Regions from separate parts of the Homo sapiens genome. Here region 1 is linked to region 2. Evidence: promoter capture Hi-C in human tissues and cell types (Jung and others, 2019). All regions are on one chromosome and are shown on one strand. Each heading gives the region's core, a stretch centred on a gene start or on the middle of the fragment in contact. The rest is flanking DNA. Distances are from core to core; before and after follow the strand shown. Region 1 overlaps LOC442028 (a long non-coding RNA gene). Region 2 holds the start of TEKT4 (tektin 4).

The links. Contacts are between HindIII fragments. The study calls those that stand out against the background at their distance.
Region 1: a fragment that was not itself captured here is called in contact with the fragment with the promoter of TEKT4 in region 2 in 2 of the 25 tissues and cell types used here (hippocampus and spleen).

What each region holds. Positions count from the first base shown.
Region 1 is chr2:94,907,531-94,913,535 of GRCh38, reverse strand. The region is part of intron 5 of LOC442028 (a long non-coding RNA gene); the gene reads left to right. It also overlaps the pseudogene RPS24P6. Among named protein-coding and RNA genes, the nearest start is that of TEKT4, 39 kb to the right of the region's middle. The HindIII fragment of the contact is 7,749 bases long and covers 1-6,005 here.
Region 2 is chr2:94,868,402-94,874,235 of GRCh38, reverse strand. It overlaps TEKT4 (tektin 4), which reads right to left and starts at 2,806. Exons shown (of 6, transcript NM_144705.4): 1 at 2,159-2,806; 2 at 646-716; 3 at 128-271. The coding sequence starts at 2,656. LOC442028 (a long non-coding RNA gene) reads left to right here. Exons shown (of 10, transcript NR_037597.1): 9 at 684-847; 10 at 3,539-5,551. RefSeq lists enhancers at 1-568, 2,469-2,982, 3,496-4,009. The HindIII fragment of the contact is 10,124 bases long and covers 1-5,834 here.

The DNA of each region.
Region 1 (6,005 bases), core at 2,093-4,592, 39 kb before region 2:
ATAAAACTATGTTTAACTTTTAAAATGAATATAATGCACTAGTGTTAAAAGCAAGAGCAAAGTGCAAAAAGTATGTATAGTGTACTATGCTTCATGTAGAAAAGGATAGGATTTAAGGAAATATGCATGTATGATCTTTTGTGCAAAATAAATACAGGGAAATAAAATCCAGAAACAGATTGTTTACCTACAGAGGGTGAGTGTGAATGGGGTGGAAAGAATGGGGTAATAGAAACAATAGCACAAAAGAGGGAAGAATGACACTTTGCTGAGCATTTTTCTTAGCTCTAATTCTTAAGAGTTATAATATTTCACATGCCCTCAAATAAATAATTTAAATTTACCAGATATGGGGGAATGGAATACAAACAGTAACAAATGAACTCAACTCTTACAAATTATTATTAGAACCACACAGAATTGGGGCACAAAAGAGCTAAACAAAGTAACTTAAAAAAAGCAAGAGTTCTTGACTGTATCTTTAAGGCTAAAGACAAAACTGCACAAATACTTCACTATAGTTTACAAATGTGTTTTCACAAGGGTATGAGTTTGCAAATGTGAAATTTTGTGTATGCTAGGATTGAACAAAATGTAAATATACTGTGGATGAGAGCCAGGCTTTCTTTTTTTTCTTTTTGGTTTATTAATCTCATGAAAAATCCACAATGGCCACAGATAACATCATTGCAGCACCTTTACTCCTTCAGCTTTTTGCCAGCACCAACACTAGCCTTTGCAGTTCTCCTGACTTTCTTCATTCTGTTCTTGGCGTTCCCTTTTATTGCCTTCTTGAGGTTTTTTTCTTCTCATAGAGGCCATGTCTTGCAAGTCTGTGTTTGGGTTCATTTTTCTTTGCATAATCCAGAGAATTGTAAATCATGCCAAAGCCAGTTGTCTTGCTACCACCAAAATTAGTTCTGAATCCAAATACAGAGATGACATCTGGTGTGGTCTTGTACATTTTGGCTAGTTTTCCCCGAATTTCTGTCTTAGGCACTGTTGCCTTCCCGAGGTGAAGGACATCAGTGAGCATTTGTTTCCTCGGAAGTAGTCTGTTGGTCATGAACTTTCTAGCGTGGATAGTTAGCGGTGACGTTCGTGATGGTGGTCTGATGAGAGCCAGGTTTTCTACCATCAGAGCATGGAGTTACAAATAAGGGAAGGAGAAAGGCTATAATGCATCCTGTAGTGTTGGATTGGAATCAAAAGTATTATATGAAGTCATTGTTTTTAGTATATGTACAGACGGATAATTGTATACATATAGATGTGTATAAATGTGTGAGTATACATACATGCATTTTCTAGCTCCTCTAACAAAAGGGCCTAGAAACATCATCCCAGTAACAATGAGAAAACCATTCTCCAATTAAAGGAACCAAGGCTCCTTGGGAACATATTTGACATCAGGATTAGGCAGGGAAAATAGAAGATTAGTTTGAAATATTTTGTCATGCTAGAAAGTAAGGAAATACAAAACGGGGAAAATGTGAAAAGGAAACAGAATCCACTTTGAATAAAGTTACATAGCCAAATTTGAGAAAATTGGGGCAATAAAATAAATAACAATAGTAATATATTACAATCTACAGAAGAAAATTTTCAGTTAATCCAGGCCGGGTGCAGTGGCTCATGCCTGTAATCCCAGCCCTTTGGGAGTCCGAGGCGGGCAGATCACTTGAGGTCAGGAGTTCGAGACCAGCCTGACCAGTGTGGTGAAACCCCGCTTCTACTAAAAATACAAAAGTTAGCTGGGCATGGTGGCACATGCCTGTAGTCCCAGCTACTTGGGAGGCTGAGGCAGGAGAATGGCTTGAATCCCGGAAGGTGGAAGTGCAGTGAGCTGAGATCGCACCTTGGCACTCCAGCCTGGACGACAAAGCAAGACTGCATCTCAAAAATAAAAAAAAATTAATGAATCCATATTGACATAAATAATACATTAAATATAAACCAAAGGGGGAGAATGGGCAGTATTTTATTACAGTAAGATTTTATTAAATGTAGGAGACATAAAATGCAAGAATCATCATTTTGCAAATATCATAGTAATTGTAGGAAGAAAGAACCTTGGAGGGATGCTAAGATTAGTGGTGAATATATGTTGGGAAAGAACATATTTGCATAATATGAAAGTATCTTCCCACAGGATAATTACAGAATAGTAACTTCAAAGTGGAGATGCTACCTTAGCCAAGTGATCAAAGTTAACATTACTAATAATAAGGTAAATGAACTTCATGTAACTTCTTATATGATGCACTGAGTAGGACAAAACATCAGTTCTATGGTATTCTTAGACAAAATGTGTAACTTTAGTCCTAATCATGAGAAAACATCAGACAAATTGAAATCGAGGAAGGGCGTTCTACAGAATAACTGCCAGTATTCTTCAAAAGCATTTTACAAAGACTGAGGAATTCTCCAGAGACATGGAGACATGTCAACTAAGTGCAATGGAGAACATGGATTGTTTCATGAACCAGAGATGGACAACACTAGGATGTATAAAATAATACCCCAACATTTGAACATTAAGCTACAAAATACTTCAGAAAAACTCATGGGCCAAGAAAAGTTTCACACGCACACACAAAATAGCTTAAACTGAAAGAAAAATTTTTAAAAACTTAAAACATGGGATGCAGATAAATCATTTCTTAAAGGTAAATTTAGATGTAATATTGAAAATAAAAGGCTTAAATCAATGACCTCTAGGTTCTTTTTTAAAAAGCTAAAAAAATGAAGAGCAAAGTATATCCAAATTAAGAAGGAGATAAAGATAAAAAAGCAACAACATAGCAAATAACCAAAGGTGGAGCTAATTAATACACCCACAAATTGGTTCTTTGACAAAAATGTTTTAATGAACAATGGCTAGCAAGATTTATCACAGAAAAAAATTAGAGAAGCTACAAAATTTAGATAACAGGAATTAAATAGTTTGTAATTACAGAACCTATAGACATCAATATAATTATGAAAACTTTAGGCCAATACAATTTGACAAATAACATGGGAAATTATTTGTAAAACTAATTCTTAAAACTGATGCAAAAAGAAAGAAATAATAGCTTCTCTATGTATTGAAGAATTTTTTTTAATTAAAAATTTCTATAAGAATTCCGGGCTGCATGGTTTCTTAGGTGAATTCTATCAAACATTTAAGAAAGTACAGAGAGTCCTCAACTTACAGTGGTTTGACCTTGTGCTCTTTTGACTTGATAATGGTGCTTTCATGTGTGTACATTAATGATGAGCATCAATATGACCAGTTTTTCACTATCAGAATAGTTTTCAATAAATTTCATGAGATACTCAATATTTTAAAATGGGCCTTGTGGTAGATGATTTTGCCCAATTGTAGGCTAATAAAAGTGTTCTGAGCAAGTTTAAGGTAGGCGAGGCTAAGTCATGATATTCAGTAGGTTAAATATATTAAATGCGTTTTAGACTTAAAATATTTTCAATTTAGGATGAGTTCATTAAGACAAGCCCATTGTAAGTTGAGGAGTATCTATAATGCCAATCTTGAACGGACTCTTTTTAAGAAATAGAATTTAAGGGCCGGGCACAGTGGTTCACACCTGTAATCCCAGCACTTTAGGAGGCCGAGGCGGGCAGATCACATGGGGTCAGGAGTTTGAGACTAGCCTGACCAGCGTGGAGAAACCCCCATCTCTACTAAAAGTACAAAATTAGCCGGACATGGTGGCACATGCCTGTAATCCCAGCTACTCGTGAGGCAGAGGCAGGAGAATAGCTTGAACCTGGGAGGCAGAGGTTGCAGAGAGCCGAGATTGCACCATCGCACTCCAGCCTGGGCAACAAGAGTGAATCTCTGTCTCAAAAAAAAAAAAAAAAAAAAAAAAAAATTAAAGGGACCCTTACTGCCTTATTTTATGAACCCAGTATTGCCCTGATTCTAAATCGAGACAAAGGCATTATACAACTTTGATATTTATTCCTCATAAACATAGACTCAAAAGTTCTTAAAACATAATAACCAATTGAATATAGCAGTACATAGAATGGATAATAAACTGTGAGCAAATGAAATTTCTAACAAGATTGCAAGGTTAATTTATTATTTGAAAGATCAGTTTAATCAATTTTATACACCTGGGAGGTTACATCTGGCAAAATTCAGCAAACTGTGCACTTTAAAATAGGAGTATTTATTTTATGTAAATTATGTTTCAATACAATTGATTTTTTAAAAAAACGTTTCCCAGAGTGATCAAAGTGGAGGGCAGGGAACAGTAAACATCATTGTTTACGTTACAGCTACTGGAAGCCTCCGAATTCCAACGACGTGCTTTCAATCAGGTCTGATCCTTCCCCTGGCGGATACCTCTGACTCAGGTGTGCTACAAATGCATTGCCCCTAGTTGCTTCTATCACCTTAGTGATGGAAGTGAGAAGAGGGTACTGGAGAAAGAAAAGGTGTACAGGGTTCCAAATGTACTTTCTTTTTCCAGAGGACACTCGTGAAGCCAGTGGAAAGCAAACAAGCTGCTAAATAAGTCACAAGCGTGTTCTCATACAGTTTTGCGATTAAATAGGACATTCAATCAATAAAATTTGTTTTACATAGTTCCTCCTCTGATAGGATGAACTTGTGGATTGTGAGACAGGGCTGATAGAACCTGTTTTCTCTCTGCCTCTTTTTTTTCCCCCAAGTTTTGTGTGCAATACATTAGGAAAAATATAATTGGGCTACAAAGCTACAAAAATGGCTTCCTGACAGCCTCATACTTGTTTCCATGTGGTGCCTATGTTTGGCACTGTGTTCTCATTTGCATTTTCCTACTTGATTAGTTAATGTATGAAGGACAAGCCTGATCTCTACTGTGAATTTCTACCAAGGTATTTTAGTAGAAAAATAAGTATGTAATGGTGCTGTGGACTGCTAAAGTGTGTAAAACATTAAGAATCTAAAAATATGCTCATTTCCAAGTTTTGTCCCAGAGCAACTGTGCACGCTGATTAAATCACTACTGTTATTTGAAGTTATCCATTTGCATGTCTAAGAAATGGATTCATACTGATTGTCCCATTTTGATCTCAAAAAACTCCTGAATATGAGAGTCGTGATCAAGGGACGCTTCATGAAATGTTCCAAAGTTAAAGTGTGCAATGAAACTAGATTCGTCATAGCCTCATCTAAAATAATTATTTCTAAAATTGTTGTTGTTTAATTATAAGCTGTATCCTTTCAGGATACTTGGAAGAGCCATAACAGTGTTTATATTTTTACAGAACAAACATAAATTATCTATGAAATAATCACTCAGATATAGAGATTAGTTCCTATTGGCCTTACATATGAATATAAATAAGTAAAAATTATTAACGTATAAGCATACTTATAATTATGTAAATGTGTGTGTAATGTTATTTGTAAGTTCAATAAAGTCATGCTTGTACATAGTTTCAATTCATGCTTCTAAAAACCACTCAATGTAGTCATTATCGTATGTTAATAAATAATCTCTGAAAATATGCTTCTGGTAGTTGCACAATATCCCTTCATAAAGACTGTCATGCTGTTTTTAAGTCATACTTTTGGGTACATAGGTTATATCTGATATTTTCCTGCTACATATATACTATTATAAATCTATTAGTAGTTGATTTTTTGTCAACACATATGATTGTTTCCTCACAACAGTACAAGAGTTGGTTGTAACTTTATTTCCTTCCAACATTTATTTTAGGTTCAGCGGGTACATGTGCAGGTTTATTATGTGGGTAAAATGTGTGTCAGTGGGGTTTGGTGTAAAGATTACGTAGTCATCCAGGTAGTGAGCGTAGTATCTAATAGGGAGTTTTTTGATCCTCACTCTCCCCCCACCCTCCACCCACAGTAGACCTTGTGTCTATTGTTCCCTTCTTTGTGTCCACATATGTGGACTCAATGTTTAGCCCCCACTTATAAGTGAGAACATGCAGTGTGTGTTTGGTTTTCTGTTCCTGCATTAATTCACTTAGAATAATGG
Region 2 (5,834 bases), core at 1,557-4,056:
TTGCCCAAGTGCCCTCGGGGGCGAGGGCCTCCGGGCCAGGCTGGTGAAAGCAGCGCCGCTGGGGCCCCCAGGCAGAGGGAGGCGAGACCACAGCCAGGGCAAGTGCAGGGGCAGAGCTGGGGCCCACCTCTCTTGGAAGGTGGTGGAGTACGGATGAGCCTGCACCTCGGTGCTCTGGCTGTGGTGGCGCCCGCAGGTCTCGTCGATGTTGTAGGCCTCCATCTTGTCTGACCAGTCCATCTCGCAGGTCTCCTTGTGCTCCCGGTTCAGTCTGGGGCGGGGTGGGGCAGGGCCTTGATGTGTGCCCAGGGAGGGCCCTGCTGGGGACCCTCTGTGCTGCAGGCTGGGCCCCAATGCCTGCCTCAGGAGGGAGTTCTGGGTGGGCCTGTCCCGGGCAGCCCTCGTGCTCAGCAGTGACCAGGAGCTGCGGCCCAGGCTGGGAGGCTGCAGATCAGATGTGGCACTGGGCTCTGGCCACTCAACCTCAGGCTGCGCCGGAACCTCCCCCACCCAGTCCTGCGCTCCACTGTGACCTGGGGCAGCCCCTGCTGGCTCTGAGTCTCAGGGTCCTGTCGTTCAATGCCTTGCCCCAGGACCAGCTGTGGGTAGGGTCAGGAATCATCCCTTGGGCAGCCCTCTACCCACCGGATCTGGCTCACTGCTTGCATGATGGTTCTCTTCAGCAGCTCCTGAATGTTCCGGATGAGCTCGGCTTCCTGAGGGAGGAGACGCCCTGAGCACCAGAGCCAGTCCCTGGTGAGGATCCCAGGAGGCCCAGCTGCTGCAGGCCTTGGTCAACACCTGAGCAACCACAAGGAGTTGAATGCCGGGCCTGAGCTCTGACTGTGTAAGTTCTGCTCTCTCACTGGGTTTATCTTGGGCTTTTGGGCATTCTCCTTGGTGCGTTGTAAGTGGGGTGTTTTCCTCCAGGGCCTTCTGTGGGCTGCTGGGAAGGTCCCTCAGCGGCAGTTCCCACGCCCCAGGCTTCAGGAGTCATCGCTGCTGCTCACTCAGTGCACCTGGGAACGTTGGCCTGCCCTTGGCCTCTGGACAGCCCCTGAGGACCCAAACTCTGGGGGCCCAGATGCCCGCCCAGGCTGCCCCTCAGGGCTCTGTGCTGGGAAAGGCCATCTTCACACCAAGAACAGGAGAAGGACCCTGTGTTTCTTCTTATTGCCTGGCCAGTTTAATTTGCTGTGTGTAGGAACAAGCCTTTTCTCTGTGATTGGGGTCTTTGCCTCAACCACTGGGTACTTCCTTGTGTGCCAGGGCCCGGGTCCTGCGCCCCTCTATCCCTGGGTTTGCCTCTCCGTGCACTGTCAGTGTCTCCATCAGTTGGCAGGTGCCCTTGTTGCGGGCAGAGAGTTTGCGGGAGCTGCAGGAGTTCTTGAGGCACTGAGAGAGTGCAGGGGGAAGGGCCTGCAGAAGGGTAAAGAAGGGAGGAGGGAAGGCATGAGGGGAGGGAGGGACTCAAGGGTTCTTGCCTGAGCTTGGGGTATGGCAGGAGACCAGCTGCCCCCACCCCACATCTTTCACGAATGTCTACAGGCCTGTAGTGGTTCTCAGGGAGGCCCCAGGCTCTGAGAGGTCAGAGAATTCTCCAGAGCCAGCATCTGGGCCAGGACTGAGTTACTCTCTCACCCTGTGGGGCTGCCCCACAGACAAGCTGGGGTGGATTGGGAAGTTATAGGGGACATGGAGGAGAGGGGACCTGTGGGTGCAGATCTTTGTGTCCCCGGCTCTGTATAGGATGAATGGGAGCAGTGGCTCCCAGCCCACCCCACCTTACCTGTCCACACCTGCAGTGCTGGCCCAGACCTGGGTTTCCACCTTGGGAGCAACTGTCCCAGCGAGGGAGGGTCTCTGGGGAGGTGCCTTGTGGCTTAGCCCAGGGAGCCCAGGGTCAGGATGACTGTGCCAGGACTCAAAGGGATTAGAGGAGGAGAGGAGAAACAGCTGCTTGGAAGTCAGGGGTCTTCTGGGGCAAAGCTGCCTCCTGTCACTAAGGGGCCAGATTTCGGGACTCAGGGGTCTCACGTGCAGAGGGCTGGGCTCCCGCGTGCTTGCAGCAGCCACGTGGCTTGTCCACATGAACTGCGGGGGGGGGGGCTCCTCCTCTCTGCGCCCACAAATCCCGGCCACCCAAGGGTGCTGGCACCTTCAGCAGCTCCGTTTCCACATGGTCGCGCACGAGGTTGGGGTGCTCGCGGCGCTCACGGCACTGCAGGTTGTCAGTGGTGATGGAGAAGGGCACCTCTGTGGCGTCCAGGGCGCGCTCCAGCCGTTGCTTCTGGGCCAGGAGCAAGTTGGTCTCCGCAGCCAGCGCCTCCATCTCACGCTGCAGCTCCGACTTCCAGCTGTGCGTGTCCTGCAGTCGCTCGCCCACTGTGCGCGTGGAGTCTTGCTGCGTGCGCTGCGCCAGCGCCTGGGTCTCTGTGGCCAGCTGCTGGCTCTCGTGCCGCTGCCGCTCCGACTGGTCGCGGTCGGCGAAGGCCTGGTGGTAGCGAGCATAGCAGTTCTGGAACCACTCCTCCAGCAGGTACTTGGAGGTGCGGAAGCTGGCGGTGGCCAGGCCGGAGGACGTGTAGGCGCCCGTGTTACGGGCCACGTCGTACTCTTTGCAGGGCAGCTCGCAGGGCGGCACTGTCTGCGCCATGGTGCCTGCCGCCCACCAGGGCCAGGGGAGTGAGGACTGTGTGTGGTCAGCCGGTTGCGGTCAGCCTAGTGCGGTCAGCGGGGCAGCTCCAACGGCTCAGTCCCAGAGCAGGACGCGGCTCCCAGTCGCTTGGGTGACACTGTGTAAACCAAGAGCTTCCTGTTGCCAAGAAACGGGATCTCTTCTCCAGTAGCTAGGGGAGGGGCATTCAGGGTGGTGGGCAGAACTGCCCTCTTAAAGGGCCAGGCAGCCCCAGCCCCACCATCCCTGTCCCCGCCTCGGGGCAATCAACAGTGGCCAAGGGTTCCTGTCACTTAGAGGATCCTGGGGCCAGCCCGTCTCCAGCCTCTGAGTCCCACCCTTAGGGTTCAGGGTGTGGGTGGGGACCTACTGCCCTGGCCCCTTCCTTGGTTCATCCATTTGTTCCTGGTTTGCGCTCTGATCCTGTCCTGTGCGGAGCTCCGCGCTCAGGGTGAACAAGACAGGAGACTCTGCTCAGTTGCAGCCACCTCAGGGCAGAGGGCTGTGGCTGTCGTGTGGGTGTTGGGTGTGCTGACTGATAGTGTTACTTGATGCCGTACAGGTGGCTGCTCTCCCTGCCCTCCTGGCCCCAACAGCAGCCTGGTAGCACAGGGAGGGTTCCAGGCCAGGTCCCCTCGGGGGCAGTCTGAGGCAGTTCCTGCAGGAACTCTGCTCCATTTTCTCCTGCACCTAGTGCCTGAGAGCCAGGCCCTGGCCTCTGGCCTTCTCCTCCCAAGTCCAAGCCAGGGTCCCCTCAGGCTGGGCACAGCGGGGAGGGAGTCTGAGTGTGCTCTTCGCTGGGGAGTTGAATTCAGCCTCTGGGTAAGTGTCCAGAGTCAGACGCCCAAATCTGCCCCACAGGGCGGAGGCAGGTCCTGTGCTGCGGAGGCTGCCCTCAAAGCCATTCAGGGCCAGGCTGCCTGGCGGAGGCTGGATGGGCAGGAAGCGCCCCAGGACACATCGGAGTCCCCCTAACCTGGGGCCAGGGGAGCCCCAGCCTAGGCGCGATTCCCCACACGGCCAGCGGAGGGCGACGTTGGTCTGGCACTGAGAAGCCTGCGGCTCCTGGCTCGGCCTCCCCTCCGTCTGCCTGGCGCATGCAGTCCTGGGGACCCCCAGCCCCTCCGGCCTCCTCTTCTCTGAGAGCCCCCCACCAGAAAGTCCTCACTAGGAAGTCCATACCCTTCCTACAGCACAGACCTCTGGGCCCCTGTTCTCTCCACCTTCACCCCCTCTCCCACCACAGCCCACACCCTCACTCCAGCCACAGGAGCCGGAGCTCCTCCTGGGCCATTCCCACCACCCCGCCCAGGGTCTCTCCAGCCCCACCATGTGCCGGCCAGTGCCCTCCTCCTGGACCTGACCTCCCCCCGTCCTGGCCTCTCCCGCGGCCAGAACCCTCAGTCCATGCTGCTGTCACCACGGTGCGCCTGGCCTGACACAGCCTCCTGATGGGGCTTTTGAGGACAGCAGCCCGGAGACTTACCCTAACCCAGGCCGAGTCAGAACCTGTGGCAGGCGGCCTGGGAACCTCTTCTTACTGTCCATCAAAATTGGGAGGTCAGGGGACCTTCAGGGACTGGTGTGGTCTGAGAAACATCCTCGAGCCTCGCCATGACTCAGTTTCCCCAGATGGCAGCAGGCTGGAGCCCACACGCAGGGCAGGATGCCAGGCTCCACCTTTTGTCTGGAACCTGCATTCACTGGGCACCTCTCTTTAGGCAGAGCAGAGCAGAGCTGCCCGTGTTTGTCCCCTGATCTGTGGCCCCAGGAGCCCGAGAGACCACCTGAGCCAACGAGAAGGCCTCTGGGCCAGAGCCCAGCTCTGCGAAGTGGGAGACTTCTCAGCCTCCACTTCCAGGTGCCCTGAAGTCGTTGGCAGGGGGTGCTGCCTGCTTGGGGCTCCCAGACTAAGGGAACACATTCATGTGGTGACCACGATAGGCCCTGCAGGCTGAGGCACAGGATTTGACCAAGGACGCATCAGAGATAGGAGACTGGGCCCTCACTCCTGCCAGCTGCAAACTCCCAAAGCCCCCAGCCCTCTCATGGGGTGAAGATGCCCTGAAGGACACTCCAGTGTGCTCCCACCTCTGGGTTCTGCCAGCCAGAGAGTGGGACCCTCAGGCCACATGTGTCTTGCTGGATCTCAGCTTTAGGGACCCATCGTGCTGGCAGCTCCCTGAGACCTGGGTCAGGGGGTGTCCATTAGAGCACCTTGGTCAGGACCCAGAGATGGGGAGGGCAGTTGGCATCTCCAGAAAGCAGGAGGTGGGGCATGGCTCTGTGACAGACGTCCCTGTGACAGGGAGGATTGGAGGGACAGAGGGGCGTGCTCAGGGGCGGAGGGGCAGATGAGGCCACCAAAGGGCACCTTGAACACTGGATGGCCCCAGGAAGGCCCTTGAACCCCATCCTGATTGATCCAGGGCCTGTGACCTTGGCCCAGACTGCAGGCCTGGGGACTTGAGTTCCTTTAGTTTCTTAAGAAACTACTATACTCCTTTTTGGCATAGCTGTACGATTTTACATTCCCACCAGTAATGTGTGAAAGCTCTAGTTTTTACTCATGCTCCTCAGCGTTTGATGTTTTATTTTTATTTTAGCTATTCTGATATATATGTGTTAGTCATTGTGGTCTTAATTTGCAAATTTCTAATGACTAATGATATTTAACACCTTTTCTTGTTCATAATTAAATACCATCTGTATTCCTTTTCGCATATCATCAACACAACCGTGAAAAATCAGAACAAAATTTTTCAGACGACTTCAAAATTTTTAGAACAATACTCAAGGGAAAAGGTGTTTATTTAGAACAATGAAAACAATGAGACATTAACTTCCAGGTTAAATAAAGTTGATTGTGTGCATAAAAATGGTGAAAATATTAGACTTCCTTGGCAAAAGAAGAAAGGGGAAGACTTTATATTTTCTGAAATAATATTCATCATTTGTCTTTGGTTTATTATGTGTATGATTTGGAAAAAATGCATCAAAGATACAACCTTCTGGTGTTTGCTTTGATATTATCCTTGCAAACAGAAAAGTTGGCACGTTTCTGTATAAAACTGGACAAAGTTGGCCTAGGAATGATGTTACATTGTACTTTCACTTTACATCATACTGTAAGAGTTTAATAATAGCTAAGGCAGGC